Regions from separate parts of the Homo sapiens genome. Here all the other regions are linked to region 3. Evidence: promoter capture Hi-C in 16 types of primary human blood cells and fetal thymus (Javierre and others, 2016). All regions are on one chromosome and are shown on one strand. The core of a region is centred on a gene start or on the middle of the fragment in contact, and the rest is flanking DNA. Distances in the headings are between cores, read along the strand shown. Region 1 has its middle 50 kb from the start of GRIN3A. Region 2 overlaps GRIN3A (glutamate ionotropic receptor NMDA type subunit 3A). Region 3 holds the start of OR13D1 (olfactory receptor family 13 subfamily D member 1). Region 4 has its middle 9.3 kb from the start of GRIN3A. Region 5 has its middle 220 kb from the start of GRIN3A. Region 6 overlaps GRIN3A (glutamate ionotropic receptor NMDA type subunit 3A). Region 7 has its middle 32 kb from the start of GRIN3A.

Evidence for each region. The method cuts DNA at HindIII sites, captures the fragments that hold promoters and counts their contacts. A CHiCAGO score of 5 or more calls a contact.
Region 1: a fragment that was not itself captured here is called in contact with the fragment with the promoter of OR13D1 in region 3 in 6 of 17 cell types (M1 macrophages, endothelial precursors, naive CD8 T cells and 3 more); the score reaches 7.4 in M1 macrophages.
Region 2: a fragment that was not itself captured here is called in contact with the fragment with the promoter of OR13D1 in region 3 in 1 of 17 cell types (M0 macrophages); the score reaches 5.1 in M0 macrophages.
Region 4: a fragment that was not itself captured here is called in contact with the fragment with the promoter of OR13D1 in region 3 in 1 of 17 cell types (endothelial precursors); the score reaches 8.0 in endothelial precursors.
Region 5: a contact is called between a fragment that was not itself captured here and the fragment with the promoter of OR13D1 in region 3, in 1 of 17 cell types (M1 macrophages). The highest score is 5.1, in M1 macrophages.
Region 6: a contact is called between a fragment that was not itself captured here and the fragment with the promoter of OR13D1 in region 3, in 3 of 17 cell types (M0 macrophages, M2 macrophages and endothelial precursors). The highest score is 7.6, in M0 macrophages.
Region 7: a fragment that was not itself captured here is called in contact with the fragment with the promoter of OR13D1 in region 3 in 1 of 17 cell types (M2 macrophages); the score reaches 6.3 in M2 macrophages.

Annotation. Positions count from the first base shown.
Region 1 is chr9:101,787,477-101,790,195 of GRCh38, forward strand. No RefSeq gene overlaps it. Among named protein-coding and RNA genes, the nearest start is that of GRIN3A, 50 kb to the left of the region's middle. The HindIII fragment of the contact is 174 bases long and covers 1,329-1,502 here.
Region 2 is chr9:101,709,706-101,712,405 of GRCh38, forward strand. All of the region lies in intron 1 of GRIN3A (glutamate ionotropic receptor NMDA type subunit 3A), which reads right to left. Among named protein-coding and RNA genes, the nearest start is that of GRIN3A, 28 kb to the right of the region's middle. The HindIII fragment of the contact is 6,514 bases long and covers 1-2,700 here.
Region 3 is chr9:104,693,252-104,695,951 of GRCh38, forward strand. It overlaps OR13D1 (olfactory receptor family 13 subfamily D member 1), which reads left to right and starts at 1,267. Exons shown (of 1, transcript NM_001004484.2): 1 at 1,267-2,211. The coding sequence starts at 1,267. The coding sequence ends at 2,211. All of the region lies in intron 1 of LOC107987105 (a long non-coding RNA gene), which reads right to left. The HindIII fragment of the contact is 5,977 bases long and covers 788-2,700 here.
Region 4 is chr9:101,746,611-101,749,310 of GRCh38, forward strand. No RefSeq gene overlaps it. Among named protein-coding and RNA genes, the nearest start is that of GRIN3A, 9.3 kb to the left of the region's middle. The HindIII fragment of the contact is 2,918 bases long and covers 1-2,700 here.
Region 5 is chr9:101,961,571-101,964,270 of GRCh38, forward strand. No RefSeq gene overlaps it. Among named protein-coding and RNA genes, the nearest start is that of GRIN3A, 220 kb to the left of the region's middle. The HindIII fragment of the contact is 3,968 bases long and covers 1-2,700 here.
Region 6 is chr9:101,730,478-101,733,177 of GRCh38, forward strand. The region is part of intron 1 of GRIN3A (glutamate ionotropic receptor NMDA type subunit 3A); the gene reads right to left. Among named protein-coding and RNA genes, the nearest start is that of GRIN3A, 6.8 kb to the right of the region's middle. The HindIII fragment of the contact is 5,344 bases long and covers 1-2,700 here.
Region 7 is chr9:101,769,305-101,772,004 of GRCh38, forward strand. No RefSeq gene overlaps it. Among named protein-coding and RNA genes, the nearest start is that of GRIN3A, 32 kb to the left of the region's middle. The HindIII fragment of the contact is 4,715 bases long and covers 1-2,700 here.

The sequences.
Region 1 (2,719 bases), core at 166-2,665, 2.9 Mb before region 3:
TGCAGAGTAAAGGTGAATCCACAGTGATAATAATACCTTATATACATTATAGGTTCATTATGAACAGATACACTTTACATGCATTATATTATTTATTCTTAGAACATGGTAGGTGCTTTGTAAACTTTATTTCCATCATAACTCTGTGTATTATGTCAAATGTGATAAAAATGGACATATTATTTAGAAAAAGTATACCTTTTCACATATTGTATTAGAAGATTTCTCTTACGTATTTCTGCTTACTTTTTGTATTCTGCAATACAATAATAAAATATTTTCAAACATACTTGATAAAAATTTGAACTGCAGGAATGTAATTTTGTGTTTTTTTCCAATGACAGTTGCTTAGTTTTTTATGTGCTGTAGAATTCACAGAGCTTAACTGGCATATTGTACATTTATGTTTTATGGTACTGGGCTCAAAATAGTTAAATACTAAAATTCCTGAGCTAATTCATGCAAAGAAAATATTTAATAGCGAGTTACACAGGAGGAATAGTGGTGACCTTATTTTTTCTAGTGTGTTATTCATTTTCAGCTCAGAGCCAAACTTGAAGTCCCTCTTCCTGCCAAAAAGAAGTGGGATAACCCCCTGTCCATCACACAGCAGAGCAGAATACTGATTCTGCAGAACATAGGCAGTCAGCCAAAGAATAAAGAAACAGAGAACAGAATCTGCTCAGCCATGCTAGGAGGAACCAAAATGAACTCCCATGGAAAAAATCTGTAGAAGACATTTATTAGATGGTATTGGAAGGTTTATAAGCACTCTCATACTTAAGGTGAAGTTCTATCAGGTAGAGAATGAAGCTATAGTTTTTCTGCAATTAGTAATAGGTATGCTGATGGAAGGCAGTATCATTCAATTACAGGCTAGTATGAGTCAGTAATGGAGCTGGACACACAGACTAGAATCAGCCACAAGTGAATGAATGAGCAAAATCTAGAATAGACTAGAATAGAAAATCTCTTAGTCAAACCAGGTGAAGAGTTTTCCTAGTTCATTAGAAAAATGAATGTGCAAATTAATATTCATTTATTTAATCATTCAGTATATATATTTTCTGAGCATTCTTGGTCTAGATGCTAAGAGAAAATTGAACAAAGCAGATATGGTTCTTACCTTTTTTGGAGATACTGTCTAAGGAAGGAGGCAGATTAATACAATGATCAAAATACAAATGTGAAATCACAACTGTGAAAAGTCCTTTCATCCTAGAGCATTTGCTCCAGCTGTCCCCTCTGCCTGGAACATGCTTCCCCAGCTGTCTGTTTAATTCTTTCACCTTTTTCAAGTGATTGCTCAAATTTTATCTTCCAAATAAAGCTTACCTTGATCACTCTATTAATACTACAGCCTTACACTTTTCCCTTAATGGCACTCTGAATTCCTCTGCCCTACACTACTTTTTTTGCATAAAATTTATCATCTTTTAACATCTGATGTGATTTACTAATTTACAAACCTATTGGTATTATCTGTCCACTGCTAGAATATAAGCTTCTTGAAGACAGTGACCTGTGTTGTTTCATTAGGTTCACATTCCAAGTACCTAGGACAGTGTCCAACACACAGGAGATGCTCAATATTCATTAAAGGAGTGAACAAGTGAGGTCACAAGAGTCTATCAAAATATCTTGCAGTGGTCAAAATAGTAAAAGTTGTAATAAATTACTATACATAACTTCACAGTAAAATGTATATTGTTTTCTTTTCATGTAATTCACTGAGGTTTTCAATTTTCTCCATTAATTTTTTCATGAAGTTCCAAGAATCATAAAACAAACAAACAAACAAACAAACAATAAAACAAGACAATACCTATCTGACTCTTCATTTCAATTCTGATCCTCACATTGTGCCAACCAGGAAAGTGGCTTCCTTGCAGAATGTCACTTTAACATGATTTATTTTTATCTGAGGGTGCCACATGTTACACACATTTAACATTACATACCTAGATGTATATGACATGGGATAGTATACTTTGTTTTCACAATGTATCACAATGCTTCCTTGGCCTCTGATGTCTCAGTTCTTTTGTGCTATTCATCTTTTCACATCTAAAATTTTACTACAATACTTAACTTTCTTGATCTTCTCCATTATTATTTTCATAAAATTGTAATTTATGAAACATTTCCATGGTTTACAGAGGAGAATATTTGAAATCACAATTGTCCTGGAAAATGTAGGTTATATGAGCACAATCCCTGCAAAGGATCTGCAACATAGAGTTAAGCATTGATTATATGCTAGCATCTGGGGTTTTAAAAAATGAGAGGACATAGAGGATCCTCAAAGAGTTGCTTGGCTCTATTAGCCTTGGAATTGAGCCATTAGAAATGCTTCACTGCAGCCTAAATTCTGGGCCAGTCATGTGTAAGTGTTGTCATAATTTAAGGAGCCTGGTGAAGCTAACATTTTTTTTCCTTCTTCTCTGCTGGTCCCCTTGGGAATTACCTATATTCTGCAGAAATCAAACCTACATGCAACTGGTTATCTTTATGCACACAAATGGGGTTCATTGACATAGGTTTCCTTAAAAACCCCATCCTTCACCCCCAGACACTTAATAAGAAAGTCCTTTAACCTTAGATACAAGTAGAATTATACGTGTTTCATGAAATTTGTCGTTGTCATTGGATCCTGTCACACAGTGGTTTGGCATGAATGGGGCATATTGGTGTTGAGAGGATGAGAGATGAGGTTGGA
Region 2 (2,700 bases), core at 157-2,656, 3.0 Mb before region 3:
GTTAAGTGACTGAAATTACTTTGCAAATTGTAAAATGCATATCAAGGTGAGTGATTATTTTTATTACACAAGTACAAAAATGTTTTAAAAATTATTATACAAGTACCCAAGGCCCCAAGGAAGTGAAACACTCTAGCCTGACTCTACACTGCATTTATTCCTTTTTCAGTTATGAAAGACTCAGAGAATGATAGATGTCATTTTATGATCTATCAACATGATGGCTTAAAGAACATTTCAAAAAGTGTTGCTTGGATGCCTTGAACGTAAACCTATTCTACATAAAATTGGTCTCTTTTACTGTTATTCTCTAAATTGTTTTTCCTGGAAATCCTGTTTTAGAGAACTCCGGGTGAATCTCAGTGATTTTGGGGTCCGGGAGAAGAAAATACAGAGATTAGATTTGAAGTATGGACAGTATCAGTTCAGTCTTTAAGAACAGGAGAGGTAATTATAGGTAAATGATCACTGGGAGTCTAGGCAGGGTAGAGATGGGTGGGTGGAAACTGGGGAGCTAAGATAATTAAGGCTCTAAGTCTCAACTATCAAAAAATCTTAAATGACAGATAGTAGCTATTTGGTATTCCAACAAATCTTTCTATTTTGGAGAATTCTTACTGAGTCTCATGCATACACACAAATTAACATAAAAATTCACTTGTTGTATAGAGAATGTCAAGTATATGCAAATACTGGTAATCTTTTGCAGACATCAGTGGCATCAATGTATATATTAAGATTTGGCAGATGACTGATGCCCCAAGTCCATATTCAAGGGTAAGAATTTAGTGTTTGGATGGAGATCTCCTCTAGTTTAGAGATCTGCAATAGGCTGATACCTTCCAATTTCCACCCTGTTCTGTGGATTCATGTTGTAACTCAGGGATTTCTATTTATGGCAAAATTATATAATCAGTTTACTCAAGTTGCTTTCCTAAGGGAGGGACGACTGAGAAAAGTCAACCTCTGGTGATGAGGTATCCCAGGTAGAAATTTTGCCAAACAATTATGGTAACATTATGTGGTACAGAGTTGACTGGCAACCAGACATGGTTTTAGGCACTCTGAATGACAAAGCAGATGGCTAAAGCAAATCATTCACATTAATAGATTTCTTCTAAAGTTTGAATTGTCTGATTTTGACTGTTTAGTTCAGATGAATTGGAAAATTGCAGTCTCCACAGCTCTGAGCAGTTATGCTATGTTTTCTCATATACATACATATAATAAAATTCAATTTATAAATTAATTGAAGAGATTAATAACAATAACTAATAACAAAATAGGACAATATAACAATATACTGTAATAAAAGTTTTGTGAATGTGGCCTCTCTCTCTTAAAATATCTTACTGTACTGTACTCACCCTCGTCCTTCTTGTGATAATGTAAGATGATAAGATCCCTATGTGATGAGATGAAGTGAGGTGAATGGCATTGGCATTGTCACAGAGCATTAGGCTACTACTGAACTTCTGACCATATGTCAGGAGGACCATCTGCTTTGGGAGATCCTGGATCATCGAGCCATGATGACATCTATGGTTGGATGTCAGGGGCAGATGATGCTGATAACCAACAGGCGGGTAGTGCATACAGCCCGGATTCACTGACCGAAGGGATGATTCACACATCCCGATAGGTCAGGGTGGGACGGTGGGAGATTTCATCATGATACTCAGAATAGCGTCCAATGGAAAACTTATGAATTGTTTATTTTCGGTTGACTATGGGTAACTGAAACCTTGGAAAGCAAAACCTTGAAGAGGGGAGACTACTGTATTCCACCCATTACGTTTCTGGTTCTGGTGGGCTTTGCCAGTAGAGGCCACTAGGGGGAGACTGCAAGACTGAAGGAAGAGAAAGGGTTTGCTGCTTCTTGTCTGTCTTTTCTGTCTCTGATTTGCTTTCTGTGGGTTACCTGACTGCTCTAGGTTCCTGTAAGCATCACCCCAGCAATACTTCTTCAACTTGTTAGTGGTTCTTTTCCAGGGCAGTGGCGGAATCTAGTGCTGTCTTTCAAAACTGGAGATAATTGATAGCGAAATGAGCATTGGAAAGCTGGACAGAGTAGGGGTGGGTGAATGGAAACTAGAGAGCTAAGATAATTAAGGCTCCAAGTCTCGACTTTCAAAAAATCTTTAATGAGAGACAGTAGCTATTTTTCAATATTTGTAGAACCACTTTATTCCGTGCCCTCGGAGATACCATCAACCAGCAGGGTAAAGGTCTGAACCTGAGCTCTTTAGGGTCCCTCCTTGGAGCTCAACGATTCCATCACCAGCTGAGCAACACCCCTTTTCCTCAGATGCCTGAATTTCAGCTTTATGGGGCTACCCCTCTAAGCCTCTAAATATTTCTATTTCCAGTCTCTTGTTCTTTCCTCAGCTCAATGAATGGCAACTGCTTGGAGAATTTAAATTCACGATATCATAAAGTTCTCCTATTATCCTTCCAACTACCTAATTGACAAGTTTGTACTTAATTAACAATTCTTTTCATTAAAATTTCACTCTTCAAATAACTGACTAAGTCTCACCAATACACTTACTATCTGATGGTTTAATTAATTACTTGGAAAACCTAGAAAGATCTTGATTTTGCACTAAATTTCTCTCTTAATGACTATCACCCAGAAGAGCCTTTTGAACTACAGAGTGCAATTCTTCCTGGACTTCACTAGCTTCAAACCAGGTCATG
Region 3 (2,700 bases), core at 17-2,516:
CACAATCAAAAGCTACAGGAAAAAGTAAGTGGTCCAGCCTTCAGAGTTCTCCATCACATCACATATGATCAGAATCACAAGTAAATGATGTTTGCTGTCTCACTGTACCCCAACAGAAGATACATTTTTGTAATAGTCTTCTCTTGCGTGGAATCTGTGTAGTAACCACTGAGAGAGAGTAGTGTATGGTGGGTAAAAGGGCTGATTCTATAGCCAGATGGCTAGATATTGAATTCTGGCTTTAGTATTTACTATCTGTATGACCTTGAGAAAGTTACTTAAACTTTTCTTTGTCTCTGTTTCCTACTTTGTAAAATGGCAGTAATACTACACTTAAGAAGAGAGAATCCCAGGGCCTGGAAAAAAAGCTGTACATGCTGGGACCTAGACTCCTTAATCTCTGGAAGCTTCTAGAACAGTCCTCCAATGATTCTCAGACTCCTAACAGGTTTTTGAAAGAAGTGCAATGAAATATCCCACTGAGAACAAAAATGTTCACAGTCTGTCAAGTGTGGTTTCAAACTTTAAACCTTTTACCTTTAAAAAGCTAAATCTACTTTTCCCTTTTAAGATTGGTAGATCTAAATATTATACTATAATTCATAAAATGCATGTGTATAAAAATACATTTAATATTATATCTTGTATAAGGTAAATATAATTATATTACATATATGCATACACACACACACACACACATATGCCATGTTGGAACCATTAGGTTCTAGGCACCTAATATTTTATCTAATTCTAACTATACTCTAAGAAATAATTATTGCTTTTTCCAAGCTTACTATGAACTATCTGCAACTCAGAAAAATAAACAACTTACCAAAGCTACATCCAGGTTAAATGATATGTCACTGGCAGTCTATAAAATCTTTTAAATAGAGGCCAGCTTCATCAAAAAAACAGCTTTAAGTTCAAAATCTCTTTCTACATTTGAAAGCAGCATGTTCCTAAACTTTATTTGACACTTCCCAGAATAATTCTGGCAGTATTGGTAGCTTTGAATGTGCTGCTGTGTAGTCCTAAGATATATTGGGTTTCTCAATGTCTCAATTTTCATAATCAATAAAACTAGTACAATATCCATACTGTTTTGCTTACTGAGAGTATTCTAAGAATCAAACACAATATCGGAAGCAAATTTGTATTGAAAATTTGTAGATGTACAGATTTACAGATTTTGATGTATCAAACATTTCAATTTACCTGAATCATGTCCTTTTCTATACTACCCAGCAGGCAGGTGACCTAGAACACATGGAGACAAGAAATTACTCTGCCATGACTGAATTCTTTCTGGTGGGGCTTTCCCAATATCCAGAGCTCCAGCTTTTTCTGTTCCTGCTCTGCCTCATCATGTACATGATAATCCTCCTGGGAAATAGCCTCCTCATTATCATCACCATCTTGGATTCTCGCCTCCATACTCCCATGTATTTCTTTCTTGGAAACCTCTCATTCTTGGACATCTGTTACACATCCTCATCCATTCCTCCAATGCTTATTATATTTATGTCTGAGAGAAAATCCATCTCCTTCATTGGCTGTGCTCTGCAGATGGTTGTGTCCCTTGGCTTGGGCTCCACTGAGTGTGTCCTCCTGGCTGTGATGGCCTATGACCACTATGTGGCCATCTGCAACCCACTGAGGTACTCCATCATCATGAACGGAGTGCTGTATGTGCAAATGGCTGCATGGTCCTGGATCATAGGCTGTCTGACCTCCCTATTGCAAACAGTTCTGACAATGATGTTGCCTTTCTGTGGGAATAATGTCATTGATCATATTACCTGTGAAATTTTGGCCCTTCTAAAACTTGTTTGTTCAGATATCACCATCAATGTGCTTATCATGACAGTGACAAATATTGTTTCACTGGTGATTCTTCTACTGTTAATTTTCATCTCCTATGTGTTTATTCTCTCTTCCATCCTGAGAATTAATTGTGCTGAGGGAAGAAAGAAAGCCTTCTCTACCTGTTCAGCGCACTCGATTGTGGTCATCTTATTCTACGGTTCAGCCCTTTTTATGTACATGAAACCCAAGTCAAAGAACACTAATACATCTGATGAGATTATTGGGCTGTCTTATGGAGTGGTAAGCCCAATGTTAAATCCCATCATCTATAGCCTCAGGAATAAAGAGGTCAAAGAGGCTGTAAAGAAAGTCCTGAGCAGACATCTGCATTTATTGAAAATGTGAAAAACCTTGGGCATGCGATATCCTCAATGGGGCAAGAGAGCTTGTCTTTTGTATTTAGATACTGCAAAACCTACTGTCACGAGAGCTTGTGTGTTTGCAAAACCAACTATTAGATTCCCATTCTTTTCAACGTAGAATTTTCATGCTCATGTAACCTTCTTAATAGTGCCTTGTCTGCTGGGTTTGTAGCTGTAAGCAGTTCTGCAAACTGGCCCTATAAAAATATTGATGCTGTCCATTAAAATGAATCTCTCTCTCTCACTCAGTCTCTCTCTCTGTCTGTCTCTCTTTCTTCTCTCTCCTGCCATGTGTGTGTCTCTCTCTACTCCTCTGATTTTGTCCTCTCTCTCTATTCTGCTACTCTCTCTCCTCTCCTCCGTATATTTTCTTTCTCTTCCTTTCTTTTCTGTTGTCTCCTTTCTCAGTCACTTTGAAGTGGATATATAGTTGTTGTGCAGCATCCCTGCACAATATTGCCACCCAATTGAC
Region 4 (2,700 bases), core at 69-2,568, 2.9 Mb before region 3:
ATATCTATAACCTTATACAGTGCAGATTCATGATCTTTGTATGACCCAACACAGTGGAGATCTTGAACCATCAAGAAATGAACATTCTCAGCATGTTGTATTTATTAAGAATAATTCCATACATTCATATAGTGCCTAGAGTAAGTGGTATTTAGCTTAGAATAAACACATCCAGTCACAAGATAATCTTAAAATGAAAATCCTTTATTTGTATCTTTCAAATAGCACAAAGAAAAATACATGTATCACAGTAATTTAAAAATATTTTTCCTCTTTCTCTCATGCATTTTCTTTACTCATTACAACTGCTTTTACATTTTTTTTTTCATTCTAAACTTTACTTATAATCTTCAAACCTTTCCCTGTTTAAAGATTTCCCTAGCCGTAGCCTGTGGCCTCCCAGTCTTTCTCTGTCTCTAGCTTTCTTCCTGATTCTGCATAACAAACCTCAGGAGAATGGATTGAATTCAGTTGACAGGAGACTGAGGACTTCAAGCCAGGATCTTCTTTAGTATCTTGGGTTAGGATGGAGGCTGAGAACACGCATAATTTAATAACTGTTGACACATCACTTGTGGAGACTAAATCAGCTCTGTGTTAGGAAGATGATAGATGTTTGGTATAGAACTCAGAAATAAATAAAAAGGTCCCTGCTTGGAAGCCTCACTAGTGCTGGAAAATTTTATCATTCCAACAGGAATAAAGGAATAAGGTTTGAAATGGAAGAAACATTCTTAATTGCAATTGGGTTCTTTGTATGGATGTCAAACATAAAAGAATCAATGAAAAAAAATGGTAGCTAGTCGAATATTACAGCATAGGCCAGAAATCATAAATTAGAATAATAGGATAAAATAGAAACAAAATGTACCATTAATAAAAGTATGCATAAATAAATATATATTTTCTATTTGTCATAGTAAATATAGTGGTTTTGAAATTATATAGTCCCCAAGTGGATGGCCTTTTTGGTTGCAAAAATGCCACTTTACTTCTCTGTAACTAAAATTTAATTTACCTTTCAAATGTCCATTTCTACTGATGATGGAAAACTTAAATATATAAGTGTAAAGACATTTAGTCTGTTTGGATTAAACAAATTCCTTTAGGGTTCTTTCACTCTCATTTTCCTTCATCTTTTCTGCAGTATGGAAGTGGGTTTATGAATTGTCCTTGTGTGGAAGGAAGGGAGTTGACTTTGTTGAGGTTTCTTTGTTTGCTATGGTGACTCCTGATGTGGGCCTGCACCTTCTGTTGAAACCTTAAGTACTGTATCCCCCCTATTCCAACTCCTGACTTCTCTGGGCCATTGGCTCTTTCAGTCACTTTTGCATCTCTCTAAGGGAGTGATGAGAATTTTCTGAGACTCATCCATTCCACACTGGGTAGTGTGAAACTTGAGGAAGTTGATCTTAGGCCTCAATCTAGGTGCTTCCTTGGGCCACTGTTCTAATGCTTAGGGGATTTGTGGACTTGAGGTTTCCCTACAAGGCTTTCAATCTTAAAAGCTGTGCTCTAAGTTGCTGGAGAAGAGTTCTTTCTGATGTGGGATTCTCTTAGCCTAATTGAGTATTTATGTAGTCCATCTGTTTCCCCCTTGAAAATTTCAACCCTGTAGTAGTTTTCTATTAATTGTAATAAAAAATTACTTTAACTTTAGCAGCTTAAATTAACACACATATATTACCTTATAGTTTCCATGGGTCAGGAGTCCAGGTACAGTTTACTTGGGTACTCTTCTCAGGGGGTTACCAATCAATCTGTTGGCTAGGATGTATTCTCACCTGGAGGCTCAACTGGGGAAGAATCTACTTTGAAGTTCATTCAGGTTGTTGGCAGGATGAAGTTCCTTGGTACTGTAAAAATGAGGGCCTTAGATTTTTGTTGACTGTTGGTTGCTGGCTGTCCTCAGGTCCTAGAGACCAGCAGTAGTTTCTAGACGCCACCTGGAGTTCCTTTCCATGTGGACTTTTCCAATATGGCCACTTATTTCATTAATCCCTCAAGGAGAGTCTCTATTAAGACACAGTCCTTATGTAATACATAATATAACCTAATCACAGGAGAGATATCTTACCACCTTTGCTGTAAAATGTTAATCACAGGAGTGACATCCTGTTAACTTGCTATATTCTATTGGTTAGAACCAAGTCACGGGACCTGCCTTCTCTCAAGGGCATGGACACAAGACGTGGGGATTATGGGATCCATCCTGAAGTCTATTCACCACAAAACCCAAAATGAGTTGGAGAGCTGAGCACAGTTGGAGGCCCACTGCAGAAAATGTATAGTCATACCCCCTCTAATTCTCCCTTTCCTGTTAACTGGTAATGCTTTTCTTCCCTCAGCTAACTCCTAAATCATCATGTAAACTTTTTTCAATCCATCTGTGAAAAAAATTTACAATCTTTCCAGGGGTTGGGTTCTAGATCTTTTAAGGTTTGTAGAATTCCAAAACAAATACAACAGCAAAACTTTTCTGTGTCAAGCCTGGCTCTTTAAAACATGGGCTTCAATAGTGATCACTTTTGCTGTAATTTTGCAAAAGTATACTCAGAAGCTAAAATGTCAGTGGTATGATTTTATCCTCCTTGTTCTCTCTTAAATAATAAAACTTATCTCCATCTAGTTTTAATGGTGGAATGGTTGCATAACTAAAAACAAATTGATTATCGAGAGGGGAAAATATATCAGGTGTTA
Region 5 (2,700 bases), core at 42-2,541, 2.7 Mb before region 3:
CATTATTTAGTAAAATAAAAAGTTGGCAACCTTACACTATTTTTGTAATTTACTTTTAACATTTTTATTGAGATAAGTTGATATACAATAAATGCAGACCCATGTAACTTTGAAGTCAAATTTATATGTTTTTAAAATTAATAGTGCCATTGATGTCATATCTATGAAATTTGTCAAAGGCAAGGTAACAAAGATTTTTCTCCTGTCATTTCTTCTAGAAATGTTATAATTTTACTTTTTAGTTCTGTGTTCTACTTTGTGTTAATTTTATATTGTATGGTGTGAGGTAAGGATCAAATTTCATGTATTTGCTGTGGATATCCAATTGTTCAAGCAACATTTGTTTACAAAGATCATTCTATATTGTATTGCCTTTGTACCCTTGTTGAAGATCAGTTGTTTACACGTGTGATTATATTTCTGGACTCTATATTTTGCTTCATTGATGAGTTTTTTTGTGTTTTTTGCTCATACCACATTGTCTTATTTACTCTACTTTTTTTTGAGATGGAGTCTGTGAATTTAATAATCAGCTAAGTTTTTTAAAGCAGGCTTAGATTTGTATTTGGAATATATTGATTCTATAGATCGATTTGGGAAGAATTGACATCTTAACAATTTTAATTCTTTTGATCCATGAGCACAGTATATCTCTTCATTTATTTGTCTTCCCTAATATTTATGAACTTCATGTAATTTTTAGTATATACATATTTTGTCAGATTTATCCTTAACAATTTTATATTTTTGATGCTTTGGAAATGGTATTGTATTGTTAGTTATATTTTTTCATTCTTTATTGGTATAATATATAAGTACAATTAATTTTTACATTTTAATTGCATATCCTGTAACCTTTCTAAACTCACTTATTCTAGTCATTTATTTGTAGACATTATCAGATTATGTAGACAGATGATCATTTTTTCAATAATTAAAGATGGGTATAATCTGGATGGGTTTTATTTCATTGCCCTGCTTTATTGAATCTGCTAGTGTATCCATTATAATATTGAATAGAAACAGTTATGATGAACACTCCTACTTGTTCCTAACCTTGGTGGGGAAACAATTAGTCTTGTAAGTTTAGCATCATGTTAGCTGTAAGTTTTTTGCAGATGCCTTTAATCAGCTTGAAAACTGTCACTTCTATTTCTAGTCTCCTGAAGGTTTTTTTTAAATCAGGAACCAATATTAAGAATTATTAATTGCTTTGTCTGCAACTATTGAGATATTCACATGCTTTATCTTTATTTTGAGGTTGTTAATATAACATATGATATTGTCTAATTGTAAAATGTCAAACCAATTTATATACTCCACTTCATCATGATATGTCATGTCTTAAAAATATCATTGGATTCAATTTTCTGAAATTATATTTATAATTTTTGCATATATGTTTATAAAAAATAATGATCTTATGTCTTCTTTTAATGTCTTTATCAGGTGTGAGAATCAAGTTACTACTGGCTTCATAGGATGAGTTAAGAGTTAAGAGATATTTTCTCCTCTTTAGTTTTATAAAGAATTTGTGTAGAACTTGTATTATTTCTTTATTAAATATTAGGTATAACTTGTTAGCAAAGCTATTTGGGCCTGGAAGGGGAAATTTTTAACAACAAATTAGATTTCTTTAATAGGTATAGGGCTATCTAGATGATCAGTTCTTCTTGAATGAGTTTGATAGTTTGTGTCTTTTAGCAAATGTGCCATTATATCTAAGTTAAAATGGCATAAAGTAGTTCAAAGTATTTATTTATCTTAATTTTTGAAGAGCCTGTAGTGATGCAACATTTGTTCTTCCTGATATTGGTAACTTCTCTTATGCCCATTTTTCTTCATCTGTGTGCCTTCAGGTTATCAATTTTATTGATATTCTCAAACAGCCAGCTATTTTTTCTCTATTGTTTTCCTGTTTTCTACTTTATTTATATTCAATCTGAAATTTTCAACTACTTTTCTTCTGCTTCTGTGGGTTTAATTTGCTCTTCATTTCTTGGTCCTCAATGTAACAGCTGAGTTTTCTTTTTATTTGGAACTTTTCATATTTCCTAATTTAGGCATTTATTGCTATAAGTTTTCCTATTTGCTTTACTACTTTAGTGGCATCTCACAAATTTTGATACACATTTATATTTTATTTAGTTCAAAATACTTTATAATTTTGTCCTTGCTTTCTACTTTGACCCATGAGTTGTTGAGTATATAATTTAATTTCCAAATATTGGTAAATCTTCAGAAATCTTTTCATAATTGATTTTTTTATTTTTTTAATTTCATTGCAATCAGAGAACATAATTTATGTTACTTGAATAATTTTAATTTTATTGAGACTTGTTTTATGGCTCTAAATGTGATTTATGTTATCTATCATTTATTGGGCAACAACTGTTTGCCTGACATTGTGCTAGGTAGTGGGATTATACTGATAGGAAAATAAAACGCTACTGTATTTTATAGTCTAATAATAGAAATAAATGCAGTTTTTCTTCCTTTCTAATAATGAGTACTTTGTTATATAATGTTAATATCTACCTGTGTATAGATATAGATACGTTTTTGTCAAGTTGTTGGAATTCTGAAAATAAATTAAAATACTTCATTTTAACAGCCACAGTGCTAGCATATTTACTTCTTCTCCTTTCCTTGACCTGAATTAGTAATGTGTTTAAAAATATATTAATTGATATACAACTT
Region 6 (2,700 bases), core at 35-2,534, 3.0 Mb before region 3:
ATTTTATGACTTAATAAATTGAAACATGGAGACATCAGGTATGTTTTCCAAGGTAGGATGTCTAAAAAGTTGTACAGCCAAGATTCTAACATAGCTCTGAACTTCTCAAAAATGTAATCTCTTAACTCCCACCTTATATTTCCTCCATCATATGTTATAATTATCTCATTTACATTATAATGGTAATAATATTTTTCTGGCTCTCCTCACAAAGTAACTGTGAGGAAAAAATTATAAAAGAGATGAGAGAGGGCTTTGATACATTTAAACATACACTACAATTTATTCTTTCTAAAATATGTATTTTCATACTGAAGTATTGAAAGTCTAGATGAGAAAGTATAAAGACAACTTATCTTTTTTCTCTTATTATTTTTTAATTCTGTAGGTAAAAATGATTATTTTTAGAAAAATAGATGCATGAATAGAGAAAAATGTAGATTTTCACCCTCTATAATCCCTGTTAAGATTTTTATAAACAAAGTTCTAGACTTCATATTTTACAGGAACAAGGTCACACTTTACATACATTTTTGTAAAATTTTTCTATCTTTCTGTGTCAATAAATATATCCTCATTTTGAATGAGTACATTGTACTCCGTTAAAAAATGATTCAATTAATTACATTTCCATCATTTTGAACATTATTATATAATATGCTTTTAATAGTCCAACCTGGAAGTAGATACTTCTCTCTTTTATGCCTTTTCTTATGGGATATTACAAAAGCTGTGATGGATCCAATCTGTTCTTTGGTTGAAGGCTGACAAATAGACGAAGTTAAGAAGGTGCTATTAGTCTGTTTTTCTTCTGGATGGCTTCTCACTTCCTACAATGCATAGTTCTTTCTATTTCTCCATATTTTGTCTATACATAGTCATTTGCTTTACAGGGCTGTTAGGAGATTATTTAAACATATTTGTGAAAAAGCCTTGAAAAACATAAATGCTGCAAAAATATAATATGATTAAAATTCTTCCTAAATCTATGCTTCAAATGAATAACGATGAGGTGTAATTCATCCTGACTGAAAAAGGAGTCATCCTGCTTAATTCTCTACCACATGAACCCTTGCAGGCTCATCTCCATTAACAAACCAGCCCTGGCCAATCAGACACCAGCCTTTCAATGTCAAAGTTTACTCCTCATGACATAATGCCAGCCAGGTCAGGGATCAACCCACTTTTTCAAGGCAGGAGATCAAATACAGTTGACAGTCTCCCTGAAAGTGCATGAATCTTACACAATTAAATAAAATATCTGAGAATTTGGCTGAGGTGTCAGGTTGAGGAAAGGAGAAGGAAATGGAGAGAGTTGGCTTACTCTTAGCTCACCTCTTCCCCATTGCTCTTTGCTCCTGTGATCTCATAGAGAAAATATCAGCAAAAGACAACTGAGAGGTTAAAAATTTCTATGAGTTTGTCATTCAAACATTCACTCAAAAAGTAATATGGCAGATGCTAAGAGATGTTCTTTCTTCTTGCCTAGTTTTATGGATTTGGCATCATATTTCTGGTGCTACATAGGTCCTCTATTCTTGTGTATATGTGGCAATAGCCAGAGCTAGCAGAAAAAAAGACAATGAGATTTCTCATCTCTATATTTACTGTTGCCACTAAAATGAGCAATACTTTCCTAAGAGAGTATACAGTTATCTAGGGCAATGGGACTCAAAGTAGCTGGTTTGTAAATTATATATCCATGATGAGATAAGGAGCTTAGGTCAGTATGAATCAACACACTGCTTTCCTTATCAAGAAAGTTTGCTATGAAAAAATTTGGATGTTTGCTTTGTGGTGTAGTTGGCGGAATAGGAGTGAGAGTGGGGTAGACTCTGTATGGTCATAATTTCCTGAATGATAGTTTGCCTATAGAAAAAACTTATGAGCAATGTGAAGGACCAACATTTCTCAAATATCTTGGGCATCTTAATGATATTTCTATGGCAGGACTTAAGGCTCTAGAAGCTGTGTTAGATGTGCCATAGGTTAAAAGTTGCTGGTAATACAGAAACAGTACTGTGGCATGTCTTCTTTTTCCAGGCAAGTGTGCAACCTACTTAGGAACCTAGTTTTTTGTTTGTTTGTTTATTTCTAAGCCCACTTTTTTTTAAGAGAAAAAAATGAGGGAGAGGGTAAAGAGGAAGGTGTAAGGGGAATGCAAACATTTTACATGTGAATCATATCTCATTTTGATTAGTAATTTCGAAAAGAAAATTAGTTGAACTTTAACACTTAAGTGATTCTTACCAGATAATGACCAACACCTCTCCACTAGTTATTTGGGTAACACTATAACTTTTCCAAAGTACTTTTACTTTCTCATTTGATTCACAACATCTTTGTCAGATTGGTAAAGTACCTTCTTTTGATCTACACTTCTGATAAGTGTAGATGCTCAGAGATAGTCACTTGCCCAAAATTACATGGCTAGTGAGAGATAGATTGGGAACATCTGCAACGAAAGAGGCAGATTGGGAACATTTTGGCCACTATTTCATATGCGTTTCATTACATTGTGCTCTTTTAACTATTGTGGTTGGAATTTGACTGGGGGGTTATTTATAAAATAAAATCTAATGGTACAAAATCCATGGTGCCTTCTGCAGCACCAGAAGATAAAACACGAGGAATTAGAAATTGGCATCAGTCTTCAGATACCTCAGCTGATTCGATCATAAATTAACTCTAAGATATAAT
Region 7 (2,700 bases), core at 184-2,683, 2.9 Mb before region 3:
CTGCACCTTGACAGCACTTTAAAAGTGTTTTCTTCATCTGCTCTGCGAACTTCTAAAAATCAGTTCTTTCATCTCTGATTTGACAGCTGGCCCTGAACAACTTGGTGAGTCTATGCTGCTTTTCTTACTTAGGGAACTGTGTTTACACAAAGGACTTCTCATTTGTGGCAACTCAAAGTTGCAATGATTCGACAATGAAGCAATGGATGGCCCAGTCATTAGAAGGCAGGTGAAAGGGAAGCATCATATTAATCAAGGAACTTGAGTTCCCACTGTAATGCATTTGTCAATTAGACATAGAGAGTTTCAGTGCAGCTCTTCACTTGTTTTTTGTAGGGAGAGGGTTGGAGAATCCCTTTAATCCTAAAGAAACTGGCTGGCAGGAAGGCATTTAGACACTCAACATGTATTGATTTGTTTTTAGACTTTCTGCAGACTTGGAGGAAAGAATGTAATGCCTCATAGGTTTCCATAATACTTCCCAATGTGGGTTCTTGTGAGTCCACTGTGATTCCCATCAGGAAACTTCAGGAAGAAATTGCTTTTTATCTATGGGTTTGGAATATAGATATTGAAGCCTGTAAGAAGGATTAGGGTTTGACACTGGCTAGAAGATGAGAAAATCCTCAAGGCAGCATTCCGACGACAAGAGAGTGAAATAGAAAACTTGTTAAAATGTCAGAGGAAAAATATTTCTACTGCAAGGAGCTATCAAGGATATACTTTACTTCTTGCTAAAGACTGAGTTTGAAAATTGGGAAGCATTAATTTTATAAATATGTCAAGACTGTGATGCATTTGAAAGAAATCAACTTGGTAATGACTACAGAGGGCAGACTTCTCTCTCAGGACTATTGGAAAGGTTTTATAAAATAATGCCTGTAGATGCCCAAGATAGCATCTGTTATATAATGCTGAAATCAGTATTAAAAGCTGCAAACAAACAAAAAATTAAAATTAGTTATTACATAGGCATTTCTTTTAGCATTTACCATTTGTAAGTTCTCCTTTTAACTTATATATGTTGGTTTTAATAGAAATTATTATGATCTCTTTAAAAGGCCAACTAATTCTTTTTTTTTTTTTGAGATGGAGTCTTGCTCTCTTGCCAGGCTGGAGTGCAGTGGCGTGATCTCCGCTCCCTGCAATCTCTGCCTACTGGGTTCAAGTGATTCTCCTGCCTCAGCCTCCCAGGTAGCTGGGATTACAGGTGTGCACCACCATGCCCAGTTAATTTTTGTGTTTTTAGTAGAGACGGGGTTTCACCATGTTGGCCAGGATGGTCTTGACCTCTTAGTCTCGAGATCTGCCTGCTTCGGCCTCCCAAAGTGCTGGGATTAGAGGCATGAGCCACCGTGCCTGGCCAAGGCCGACTAATTGTTTCATCCAACTACAACTTGGGAGCCAGAGTTAACTGGTGCATAGTGACAGTACCAGCATTTTCTCTAGTATATAAAGAAAAATAGTACAAATGCCAGAAGTCTACATGATTCTCTGGTCTCTCCAAAGGATAATGGGTTCTAGCAGTTTGCTAGAACTCCCCCTGATGCAATGGAATTCTAGAAGAAGAAGTGGTTAGATCTTCCTACATGAATGAGAGAAGGTGTCACAGAGATGCTAGTATTTAGGCTGATATTTCAAGTATGAGCAAAAATTTTCTGTAGGTGTAATAGAGCAAAAATTTTCTGTAGGTGTAATAGAGATGAGTAAGCAAATGTGGTATGCCCAGGAACCTGCAAATTCAGCTCCTGTATTTGTTCCCTATAATTCACTCTTGATCCGGCAACCAAAGTGCTCCTTTTAAAACATAAAAGTATTGTTATGTCATTCCTCTGCGTAGTACCCTCTTTTAGCTTCACAATATCAAGCCCTCTTGTCTCTCCTGGTCTACTCTCCCCCTGCCTACTCCCCTTCTGACACACTGGCCTTCTTTCTGTTCCTTGAAGGTACTGACCTCCTTCCTCTTCAGAGTCTTTATCCTCATCCCCTCTCCTAGAAACTTCTCCCTCCAAATTATCATTCAGCCCTTTCTGGACCATCTTTCCAATCTTGTTACTCCTATAACATTTTTTTTTTCTGATTCATAGCATTTATCCTTCTTTGAATTTATTAATTTTGATACTTATTATCTCACTAAAGAGAATAGGGGCATCATCTAACTTTGAGAAATTTCTTGTTGTTAAAACAGACTTGTCATATATGATAGATGTTCCACAAATGCTTATTGAGTGGATGAGTGAAGAATGAGGAGGTGAATATTTTTGTAGAGCTGAAAAACAGTGGAAGTGTCAGAAAATAAGACTTGAGTAGACAGAAACCAGATCATTAGGGATGTATGCTGTGTTAGAAACTTTAGATTTTATTCTGAGAGAGTGTGGAAGGCATTACATAATTTTGAGAAGGTGGGTAGCATTCATAATAATTACTTAGCTTCTGTGTGGAGGGATGGATTAGGGACAAGGCTGGAAGTAGGGAAATGAGTTAGATGAGTGTTCCAACATCCTTTGAAGTGGGGATGATGGAAGGAGATTTGCATGGTAGTTGTTTGAGTTGTGAAGTCACTGCATGAGGTAGAATATTGGCTTTATATATTTTTTATCTGTGAAATCTTGGCAAATTGTTTACACTCTTCACAGTGGTTACAAAATGTGCTTGCCATATCTCTGACTTGCAGGGAGGGTAGCAGCCCCAGCTATTGTG